Regions from separate parts of the Homo sapiens genome. Here regions 2, 3 and 4 are each linked to region 1. Evidence: promoter capture Hi-C in 16 types of primary human blood cells and fetal thymus (Javierre and others, 2016). All regions are on one chromosome and are shown on one strand. The core of a region is centred on a gene start or on the middle of the fragment in contact, and the rest is flanking DNA. Distances in the headings are between cores, read along the strand shown. Region 1 holds the start of C21orf91-OT1 (C21orf91 overlapping transcript 1). Region 2 has its middle 93 kb from the start of SAMSN1-AS1. Region 3 overlaps HSPA13 (heat shock protein family A (Hsp70) member 13). Region 4 overlaps SAMSN1 (SAM domain, SH3 domain and nuclear localization signals 1).

The links. The method cuts DNA at HindIII sites, captures the fragments that hold promoters and counts their contacts. A CHiCAGO score of 5 or more calls a contact.
Region 2: a contact is called between a fragment that was not itself captured here and the fragment with the promoter of C21orf91-OT1 in region 1, in 1 of 17 cell types (total CD4 T cells). The highest score is 8.1, in total CD4 T cells.
Region 3: a fragment that was not itself captured here is called in contact with the fragment with the promoter of C21orf91-OT1 in region 1 in 1 of 17 cell types (total CD8 T cells); the score reaches 7.2 in total CD8 T cells.
Region 4: a fragment that was not itself captured here is called in contact with the fragment with the promoter of C21orf91-OT1 in region 1 in 2 of 17 cell types (activated CD4 T cells and non-activated CD4 T cells); the score reaches 9.6 in activated CD4 T cells.

The regions. Positions count from the first base shown.
Region 1 is chr21:17,791,059-17,793,758 of GRCh38, reverse strand. C21orf91-OT1 (C21orf91 overlapping transcript 1) reads left to right here and starts at 1,250. Exons shown (of 4, transcript NR_038871.1): 1 at 1,250-1,282. C21orf91 (chromosome 21 open reading frame 91) reads left to right here. Exons shown (of 5, transcript NM_001100420.2): 5 at 178-2,700. The coding sequence ends at 344. All of the region lies in intron 2 of LOC124900465 (a long non-coding RNA gene), which reads right to left. The HindIII fragment of the contact is 3,892 bases long and covers 1-2,700 here.
Region 2 is chr21:14,673,769-14,676,468 of GRCh38, reverse strand. No RefSeq gene overlaps it. Among named protein-coding and RNA genes, the nearest start is that of SAMSN1-AS1, 93 kb to the right of the region's middle. The HindIII fragment of the contact is 1,939 bases long and covers 396-2,334 here.
Region 3 is chr21:14,379,640-14,382,339 of GRCh38, reverse strand. It overlaps HSPA13 (heat shock protein family A (Hsp70) member 13), which reads left to right. Exons shown (of 5, transcript NM_006948.5): 2 at 797-1,137. Among named protein-coding and RNA genes, the nearest start is that of HSPA13, 2.2 kb to the left of the region's middle. The HindIII fragment of the contact is 1,839 bases long and covers 401-2,239 here.
Region 4 is chr21:14,536,447-14,539,181 of GRCh38, reverse strand. The region is part of intron 1 of SAMSN1 (SAM domain, SH3 domain and nuclear localization signals 1); the gene reads left to right. LOC124905053 (a long non-coding RNA gene) reads right to left here. Exons shown (of 3, transcript XR_007067925.1): 2 at 1,262-1,336; 3 at 654-766. Among named protein-coding and RNA genes, the nearest start is that of SAMSN1, 8.5 kb to the left of the region's middle. The HindIII fragment of the contact is 2,777 bases long and covers 29-2,735 here.

The DNA of each region.
Region 1 (2,700 bases), core at 1-2,500:
GCCTAGGATGATCAGAACTGATATGCTTTGTAGAGAACAGAACTGTTTCCTTGGTATCAAATCAGTTTCATTGTGACACTTTGCCCAATGCATAGATTTCAGTTAGAGTTCTTGAAATATAAATCATAGCACCGGCTTTCTGCATACTAAAAATGAAAGTTTTTAAATCTTTTACAGAAGTTTTTGAAGAGTTAACTCACCAAGTGCAAGAAAAAGATTCTTTGGCCTCACAGCTCCATGTCCGCCACGTTGCCATCGAACAGCTTCTGAAGAACTGTTCTAAGTTACCATGTCTGCAAGTAGGGCGAACAGGAATGAAGTCGCACCTACCCATAAACAACTGACCTAAACAGACTTACTTCGTATGCCCTGCCCTTTATTGGTCTCCCAGACATGCAAACTTTGAAGAAGTTTGAAGAAAGTTGTGGTCCGTTTTTTTATGGTCATTAAATTTGCCAAACATAAGGCAGTATTTAACATCTTTGTCAAATAAAGCAGATCATTATACTCTAGTCTTCTAGGGCTAATCATTTTGGCTCATTTGGGGACTCTTTTTTCCCAGAATTACTAAACAAATTTTATCACATGTGACTACTTAAATATACTGTTACAGTGTCATTTTATTAAACATTTTAATTCACCTGTCAAAACAACAGATTAACTCCTTAGTGTAAACTACTAGAGATAATTTTTAAGAGGGAAATGGAATTCATATCACCTCTTATTTATTATGAGCAATATTTTAATATAAAAATTTTATATGTGAAAATGCTATTTTAGGTACTTTGCCATTCTCTTTATAAATGTGTATTTGAGTGGTTCTGTATATTTATTTACATTATCATGTGTGAATATGTTCACCCATATTTCAGGTCACTGCATTTTATTCTCTTAATACAATGTTTTCACAACGGTTACCTTGCTTTCCAAAGATAAATATATTTTGGATTAGAAATCTGAGTTGTTTTAATTTCTAATACCTCTTGTAAAAGAAGAATTAATAACTTTTTAAAGCAGTATTCAGGTAAATACAATACATTATTTTGTTTTCTAACAAAAGCAGTTCTTAGTTCAGGAAGAAAAGACTAATCTGGCTTCTATGTCAATTTGTCTCCATAGAAATGAAAGCCTCCTCTTGCTTCTTTCATTATTAGCTTCACACCAGTGACTGTGATGCATTAGAATTTGGACAGAGTAAGTCAAGCCTCACTTCCAATTCAAATATAATGTCTATCTTCAAATTGAGTGTGCTGTGAAATTGTTCTGTCTTTGAAAAAAAAAAGTAAGATTATTTTGTGTGCCACTTTGGGTAAAGTTTCAAGAATACTTAAACTGTCCAAATTGTATTATCACCATCATTGAACTTAGTGCTCAAAGAAAGCATTGTGAGGTATTTTTCTAAACTTTAGACTCTATAGAGAAATATAGGATTGTTCTACAGAAGAAAAGCAAAACTCCTAATTAAAAAAAAATAAACCTATGTATTAAGAGAATGTTCTCGTAAGTTGCCTATGATGCTTCCAAAGAGTTTTTATCTAACAGATTGTGCCAAACAGCTAGATAAATTTTAATAATGTATTACAGTAAAGGCTATAACCAATGCAGAATTAAAATGGGCTCTAAATTCTGTTTTTAACTCATGTTTAGAATGTACTTATGAGGTAGATCCTTGCTTGAAAGTATCTGCTGAAAAGCCCAGTAACGTGGCAGCTTCATGCATAAAGATATAAATGACATTTGCCTTAAATTTGGCAGCCTACCCTGGCTTGGGTCAGATTTTGTTGTTGAACACAAGAAAGTATTTAAGCAAAGAAACACTTCAGTTTAATTGAAAACAACTTTTTGTAATGCTGACGTGTTAAATTGGCCTGAGGGTATTAATTGATATCTGTTGATTTTGTTTTTCTTTGAAGTATAACATTACTTTTTGGAGGGAATTTTTGAAAGATGCTTTCGATTTCTCTCAATTCTTTAAGTCATGCAAAATGAATTTAAAATCCAGGGAGTATGGATGCATTGCCTTAGTTTTGATGAGCTTTAAATTAAATGTGTGCAATATCAAAATATTCAAACTTACAAGCTGGGTAAATACATTTCCTGATTAATATCTTAGTGCTTAATTGTTCCCACATTTTCAAATTTGACTTTACTCTTTTTTGGCGTAATTCAGTAAGATTGTTACCAGCCAGTGTGTTTGCACACATTTGGGTTTGTGTTTAGATGAGTTAGGGACAGTCATAAAAGTTGGGGATATGTTGCATTTGATATCAATAGTAGCATATTTCCAGAATATGAGCCATAAGTTGCAGTCCTGAATACAACAGTGTTATCCAAAGAAAGGAGTTTTCTGACAAATATACATAGCTTTGCTAATGAGTACGGAACAAGTGGATGAACGTGTGCATGTGCTAAGGTCTTAAGTGGGACTCTGATTTATTCCATTTAGATATTTCTACTTAAGCTCTAAAAAGGAGAGGTGCTCTTAAAAAAAACTTTGTGGTGCTGGTACTCACACTACTTTATTTGGATGAGTTCCTAGTAAAAAAAACTTTTTGTTGAAGTATTTTGCACAGCAGTTTATCCAAATGTTTGGTAAACTTATAATTTAGTCCTATGTTAGTTTTCTTAATCAAATATGCAATTACTGTGTATGCAAATATAAGTATCAGGTACAGAGTTGAGTTCTAACAAGAGAACATG
Region 2 (2,700 bases), core at 116-2,615, 3.1 Mb after region 1:
TTTGGCGTCTAATTTCCTGAAGTTGAAGAGACAGCTGTCTGGGGGCCTGAGACTTAAGATGATGAACATGCAGATATCAAGGAAATGGTTTCCTTACAGCAACAGCTCCTTTTAGATCTGAGCATTTCCTCATTCTCACCTGACTGTAGAACATTACAAGTTTCCATTTGTGCTGAATTCAGATACATTCTTTCTTATTGGTGGAGGCAGTTAGGGTTAACTTCTTTTAGCCTGCTTTATGCAAGGCAAAATTTAATCAAAGTGATCTCCAGATTCCAGTAATATGACATTTCAACTGTGTATCCTGAAGAAAAACAGTGCATACAGATGTTTGCAAATGAAACCAGAGGAAAATACTAAATCTTTATTTTTTTCCTTAGCATTTAAAGAAAGCTTGTTTTTATTTCTGGACAATAACAATTTCTATGTTAGCCACTGTTTCCTCGTCAGTCTGAGAGAAGTAAAGCATTTTGTCTTCTCTGGCAGTTGGGGTTTCTAACGAGAGTCTGCTTATCCGCATATGAAAACAGGAAGTGCTGTTGGCTGGTGACTGACTTCCTTCACTTACTACCTGCTTGTCTAAAGTTTGGGCTTCATAAAATTGGTTCAATCTTCATGGTCCAAGTAAAATAGAAAATGAAGCAATTAACCATTTAATTTAAACGATATTAACAGTCTGAGTAATTCTAATATCGATCACTTTCACACCCTGAATTACTGATGAAGAAAAATCTATAAAGTGGAATATGGGTTATGATCCAGTGCCAAGCTGGGCCATTTAGGACATGAAGTGGACAATTTGGTTTAGTGTTGGCAAACAGCTAAACAAGCCATCTTCAATCATTTGCGACTTGCAATAGTAACTTAATGTTGTTTGATTTTATTTCATCTTCCTATTTCACTTTTTATGTTCTATATGGCATTTTTGCTTTTTAATAAGTAACTTTACACGTACTGAAGCAACTACATGTCACTTTGTTTATATATATATGTATTTTTTGAGATACAGAAAAGTCCTCTAATTTGCCTGTAAGGCAGTTTTGAAAGTTGTTGCTTTAGGAACAGAGGAGTGTAAGGAATCCTACAGAGAAAGTCCTAAGTCATATCTTGGAGATAAAGAAACTGAGGCCAAGAGAAATGAACTGCCTGAAATCAAACCACTGGTTACTGGTAGTTGCAGGCTGACAACAAAATGACTGCAATTGTTCTTGGTGTCTGTGTTTACATCCATTGCAATGTGACTTTGAATCTGACCATGCACTGTGACTTTCTTTGACTGATTGATAGAATTTGGAGAAAATAAGGATGCCAGCTCAGCAGCATAATTATAATATAACTAATGCATAATTTATTTAATTTACCTTTTCTTAAATTCCCAGAATATTTTATAAAACTAGCAGTTCTCATAGGGATTTTTCTTTTCACAATTTTGGCTTCCAGCTATCTGGCAAATTTTCAAAAATTTGTTTTCTTTGCTTGTATATTGTATAATTTCTTCGTATCTTCTACCTCATAAATCCTCCTAAAATGTTCTTTCCTCTCCTTTTTGTTTTTGAGTTTTTAGGAACATCTTTGGCTGAGGTGGAATTTCTGACTATGTTATTGGGCACTACTTTGTGGTACCAAGTTTTAATCCACTTAACAGCTTCCAGCATATTTACTTTTTTTGGCAGGCAGGTGATGCTCTCAGCTATGTCCACACCAGCAGGCAAAATTGCAATAAGCAAGCAACTCTTGGAATGAATAAAAAAAATCCTTCACAAGGGGGAGGTCAACCTGTTTTTGATAAATTTCAGTTTGTTGTCACCCGAAGCTATGCACGTTAGCATAAGGCATTATCATATTTGCAGCCCAAATAGAATCCTGTATCTGACACCCTCTTTTTCTTTAGATGATTTGCTCGTTCTTATATGAAAGGCAGTAAAATGTAATAAAATGAGCACTGAACTTTATGGTAAGAGCCTGAATTCGAATTCTAGATTATCCACCACTGAACTTTATGATAAGAAGCCTGAATTCAAATTCCAGATTATCCACCCATTAACTGTGCCACTTTGGGGAAGTCACTCAACTTTATGGTAAGAAGCCTGAATTCAAATTCTAGGTTATCCACCCATTAACTGTGCCACTTTGTGGGGGTTACTCAACTTTTCTCAACCCCAGTTTTTTTATTAGTTATTTTAGAGAATAAGGTAAAATATTGTAAAGCATTTTGTAAGCTGCAGACTCCAGTATCTACTTTTCTTCTGAGCTCCATACATTTTCAATTGCCTGTTAAACATTGATGGCTAAATGTCCCATCCAAAATGCATTTCGATGTGCACTACTCAAGCTTTCATTTTCTTCCGAATTCTCTAATTCTATTAAATCATACTAATAATTTGCCAGTTACCCAGGTTGCAAATGTTTAAATATGGTTTTGTTGCCACTCTCTCATTTATCCCTTATAAGTTATTCTTTTATTTATTAATTTTTGCATCCAGAAAATGCCTATTAATCACCTGCTGCCTTTTCTGTTGCTGTACATCCTCCCTCTTTCAATCGCATCTCTGCATTTCAAAGCAGGCTCTGCTCCATTTTATCTCCCTGTTTCACACTCTGCTCCTCTGGCTTTGGCATCTATCTTATATCTCTCAGCCCAGACGTTGACCTGATTGTATCACTTCTTGCTTAGTCTGCTTTTCTGGCCCCAGTGCCTCT
Region 3 (2,700 bases), core at 71-2,570, 3.4 Mb after region 1:
CTCTTTTTTCTTTTTTTTTTAAATTAGTATTTGTTGGGCATCTGCTATTCCTGGTCTGGGGGATACAACAGTGAACGAAACTTGTCTTCAAGAAGCTTTCATAGATGTTGCCGTCAGGGTTGCCCACCTTTATGCTTCTTCTCCCCTAAATATTACCACTGCAAGAAGGAAGTCCCTAGTTCATACTTAAATACATAAAAAGTTAACTGTGTTCTGTTTTGAAGTGACAGTTTCATATCTAAGGAACTTTCAAAATCATTTTATCCCATTTATTCATTTCATCCTTTTGAAAGGGAAAAGGAGGTGAGATACGAGGAGAGAATTTTAGACTTATAAAATAATAAAGTTTTTCTTGTGAGAATTTTAATAATGGAGCTTTTAAAAAAAGATAATCGAAGCTTTTTATAAAGCTGTAAAATCTAAATATCAATTGATCAAGAATATTAGATTATATCTGGCTTTTGCTCCAGATAAATGTTGTTTCTTGTCAGCATCTGCACAAATATTATTGAAATATTTTTACATTTTATTACATTTATTAGAGAATGACACAAACATACAGTTATAGGGTTTTTTGTTGTTTGTGTTTACTTCATTTTAAATTTTATTATAACCAGTTTACATTTTGAAAAACTTGCTGTCTGAGAGGAGTGCTATCAGCAGTCCTATAAAAAATTTTGAAATTTGTCTTTTTTAGCCTTGTTTCAACGAGTGATATTAAAGGGACTTTGCTACAGTAATTTAGTACATTGTACTAGTTTGATAAAATACATCTTTTAATTTTCCTTTATTTCAGGATCGGCTGTTTTGACTCTCCTGTTGGCCGGCTATTTGGCACAACAGTATTTACCATTGCCTACTCCTAAAGTGATTGGTATTGATCTTGGCACCACCTATTGTTCTGTTGGGGTGTTTTTTCCTGGCACAGGAAAAGTAAAGGTGATTCCAGATGAAAATGGGCATATCAGCATACCCAGCATGGTGTCTTTTACTGACAATGATGTATATGTGGGATATGAAAGCGTAGAGCTGGCAGATTCAAATCCTCAAAACACAATATATGATGCCAAAAGATTCATAGGCAAGATTTTTACCGCAGAAGAGTTGGAGGCTGAAATTGGCAGATACCCATTTAAGGTAAGTGATTAATCTAAAATCTATATTAATTTTAGTGTACTCTTTTAGTTAATGCTTTGGCTTCATGTCACAAAACATTCTATCTCGTCTAGTTTTATCTATTAATACATGAAAGTTCTGTTATCTCACATAACCAGAAATTCCACAGCAGCTATAGGATCAGTTAATCACTGACTCCATAATGCTAACAGGTACTTAAGGCCTTGCCATTTTCTTGCTGTCCCATCCTCAGCATGTCTTGCTTAGCTCTTTCAAGGTAGCAGGAAGGTTGATGAAGCCCTGTGTACCATAGATAGATATTCTGTGTGTGTATGTGTACATATTTATATACATATAAAGAGAACATACCAGGTGTGCTATTTTTTGCTATTTAATATGTCATGGATAATTAATAGGATCATGTCATTATCTTTAATGATTTTGTGGAATGACTATTCCATTATTAATTAGACTAGTCTCTATCAGTGTACTTTTTTGTGGTTTTTCACTAATGTTGGAGATTCCGGTAATATCCTTACTTATCTTTGTACACTTCTCTGAAAGTTTCCTAACTTGAATGCTAGAAGTCTAATTGATAGGTCAAATGTGTACGTTTTTAAGGCTTTTGATTTATTTTTCTGGTTTGCTCACCAGAAAGGTTATATGCTCTTAACCATAATTTTTTAGAGTGGCTGTATCTTCGCTAGTTATTTTTTTTAATCTTTAACAGTCAGATAAGTGAAAAATAGTATCCTGTATTAATTTTTATTTATTTTGATTTTTTTTAGTGAGATCAGAATTTTTAGAATTTTATTGATATTTTAATTTTCTTTTATGGTCCATTTTTCTTTGTCCTTTTTTGTTTTGGTGTGTTTTTCTTTTCCTTAGTGAGCTATAAAAGACCTTCATTATATGTTTTTGTTATCTTTTCCTTACCTTTTTTTTTTCACTGATGTTTTTGAGCTGGATGTCAAAGTTTTAAATTTTTGATTTTAGACTCTTATCATGTTTACTGTAGCCTATCCCATCCTATCCACTGCTACTTTTTTTTCCCTCTTAATACGTTTATGTATTTGTTGGTTTGGATTTCGCTGCTTTTTTTTTCTTTTAAACATTTAAAGCTTTTTTCCATGTGGAGTTTTTCTTGGAAGTTATGAAGTGAAATTCTAAATGAAGTGAAATTCTAAATGAATTAGTTTTTGTTTTTTTTTTTGAGACAGTCTCATTCTGTCTCTCAGGCTGGAATGCAATGGCATGATCTTGGCTCACTGCAACCTCTGCCTCCCAGGTTCAAGTGATTCTCCTCCCTCAGCCTCCCAAGCTGGCATTACAGGCGTGTGCCACCACGCCTGGCTAATTTTTGTATTTTTAGTAGAGACGGGATTTCACCATGCCGGCCATTATTTAGTTTCAAAATAGACAGTTGTATCAGTGCTGCTTATTGAATAAACCTAGCCATAAAAATGTTCAAATTTTTCATCCGTTTTCAAAGAAAAAAAAATTGCTCCCTGCATTTCTTAGGTTTATTACTTTGTTGTTTTTTGACTTCTTTTTTGGGATTCTTTACTGACTTACAATCTTTAA
Region 4 (2,735 bases), core at 168-2,667, 3.3 Mb after region 1:
TCAGTACAACTGTAACTCATTTTAAGCTTTATGTTAAGAACTCTAATATACCCAATGTTATGAAAGAATCCCATTGTTACCTAAAGGTAGAACTTGGTCCAGGTTAAAGAATATGGAAGAAATTTTGAAAATAGAAAGACATGGATCCCACAAATTAAAGTTAGTGACTGTAATTAGAACATCTTGGCCTTTACTTGAGAGGGATTAATGATCCGTGTTAATAAATTTTAGCAGGTTTTTCTTTGAGTAAAGGAGATTCAAGTACCATTGTTATTTTTGAGGGAAACGTTAGAATAATGACAGTTCTGGAAATAGCCTTTTTTTTAACCATTCTTTTTAATCTAAAGTGCATACTAAATGAGACACCATTAGTGTCACAGATGCTAATTTTCACTAGCAATGACTGAAGTGGCATTCTTTCCCATTTGCATTTGATCCTAGCAATGATGAGAGGTGATGAGTTGATTATGAGCTGTTTTCACTGCACTGCCTGCTGTGCAAATTTATGCTCCTAGACAAGGATGACACATAGTTGTACCATTAAAGAGCTTTCTTCACTGTTTTTTTGTATCAAGACTGCTAGGATACATTTTTAACTCTTATCTAACCAGGTATAAGAAAGAGAATAAGTATTTATATGCACTGGTGCTTACTTGAGGCCAGGTACTTGTCCAAGGTGCTCATGTCCATTATTATGTTTAATCTTCTCAAAACCCCAGGAGGTAGACATTATTTTTATCTCCAATTTACAAAGAAGAAAAAAGCCCTGTAGATGCAAAAATTTTCCACAAGTTAAAAGATTTGGGATTTATGGCACAGTTTTTCTGCTTCTAAGCCTGTGTCTCTCTCCTCCTACTCTCTATTACTTCTTCATCTGGGGTACAATTTTTGTTGAATGTTTGCCTTTTCAAACAGAGTTTTCTGGAATAAAATACATGATATAAAATGTAGGTAATATGTTAGATTTACTCTTTTCCCCTTTAAAAAACGGTGGCTATAAGTAAATATTTATTTTAACTTCTAGTTATTACCTCCGTCCGCTCCAAAAACAAAACAAAACAAAAAACCAGATATCTCAAAAGGTTGTCTTCATTTTTGTGTTTATGTAGCATTTATAGCATTTTAAAAAGTATTTTTGATAAACTATAATGCAAACATAAAACCAAATAAGACAAGTCAGGAGAAAATGAAGTCTAGAACATGTTAAAATGTATCTCAAGGTTCATCAAGGCTGACTTGAATCTAAGAACTTGCTACTCACTGTGGTCCTATAGAGCAACAGCACGGGCATTCCAGGAGCTTGTTAGCCATGTGCATTTTCCAGTCTCCCCCAGGCCTACGAAATGAAAACATACATTTTAACAAGATACTCAGCAGTTCTGTGAGCACTTTATAATTTGGAAATGATGCTCTAGGTTGATGGTTTTTGGAGCCTAGGCCGAATATTTGAATCACTAAAGAGCTTTAAAAAAAAAACTGATGATTGGGTTCCATCCCCAAATATTCTTATTTACCTAATATAAAATGTGACTGGACATCAAGAATTTTTAAAGTTTTCCAACCTGGCAGCACTTTTTTCTACTTTTCAAAAGACTTAAAAGTTAATTCACTAATCCATGCATTCGTTCATTCATTTATCCTTCAACGCAACAAATGTCTATTAAATGCTTATTATGGACAATACACTGGCGATACCAAGGTGAACAAAAGATACCATATTTGCTGGAGATGACAGACAATAAATAGGATAAATAAGTAATATATACAGTATGCTAGATAATGATAGGTGCCAAGAAGAAAAAAAAATTAACAGAAAAGAAGGATTTGAAATATGAAGAACTAGAGAAGCCTTGGTGAGAATGGGACATTGGAAAAAGGACTGGAAGAAAGTGAAGGAGCTGGTCTTGGGATTGGTGAAGGAAACTGTACTCTGGGCAGAGGGAAGAGCAAGTGCAAAGGCCTTGAAATGGGACTGTCTCTGGTGTGTTTGAGAAGCAGTGGGGCAGAGTGCATAGCGGGAAGAGCCGCCGCAAAGAGCTGGATCACTGAAGGCGTTCTAGGCCATTAAAATAATTTTAGCTAGTGTTGAAAGATGTTTGAGAAGTGACAGAATCTGGCCTACAGTTTAGTGGGTTTATTTTGGCTTTTGTGTTTCAAATATACTGAAGGGAGTGAGACCAGTTAACAGACTATTGCAGAAACCAGGCAAGGGATAACTGTGGTTCAGACAAAGGAACGGCCCAGTTGACTTTGGTGTTGAGAAGACTCTAAATTTGGGATATATTTGTACTTACTTTATCCATTTGGATGTTTATAGGTAACTTACTACATGCTGTCTAAAGATGGCAGACAGAAAGTTTCCACTGTCCGGTCCCATTCTTGCTTCCAGTTGGTGCTTGCATGCCAAGGAGAAATGGCCTCATTCCATTGTTTACAGTCACCAGAAATTCACCCCTAAATTGATGTCTCACTTTGCAAAGGCTTCTTCTTCTTCTTTCTTAAACATATAATTTTCCATTGGATTTTATTTTAATTCGTAGTGCACCTTTTAAATAATTTTTAGCCTTGACCACTTCTCTCCAAACAAAGCACTAATACATTTTAGCTTTTCCGTTTTACAGAATATGAATCTGTAATCAAGTTTTATCCCAAGCAGGTAGCAAAATGTTTGGGGCCAAATGTATTAGCTATACTTGAAAAGTGTTCAGATAATATTCAGAAAGATCAGATGAATA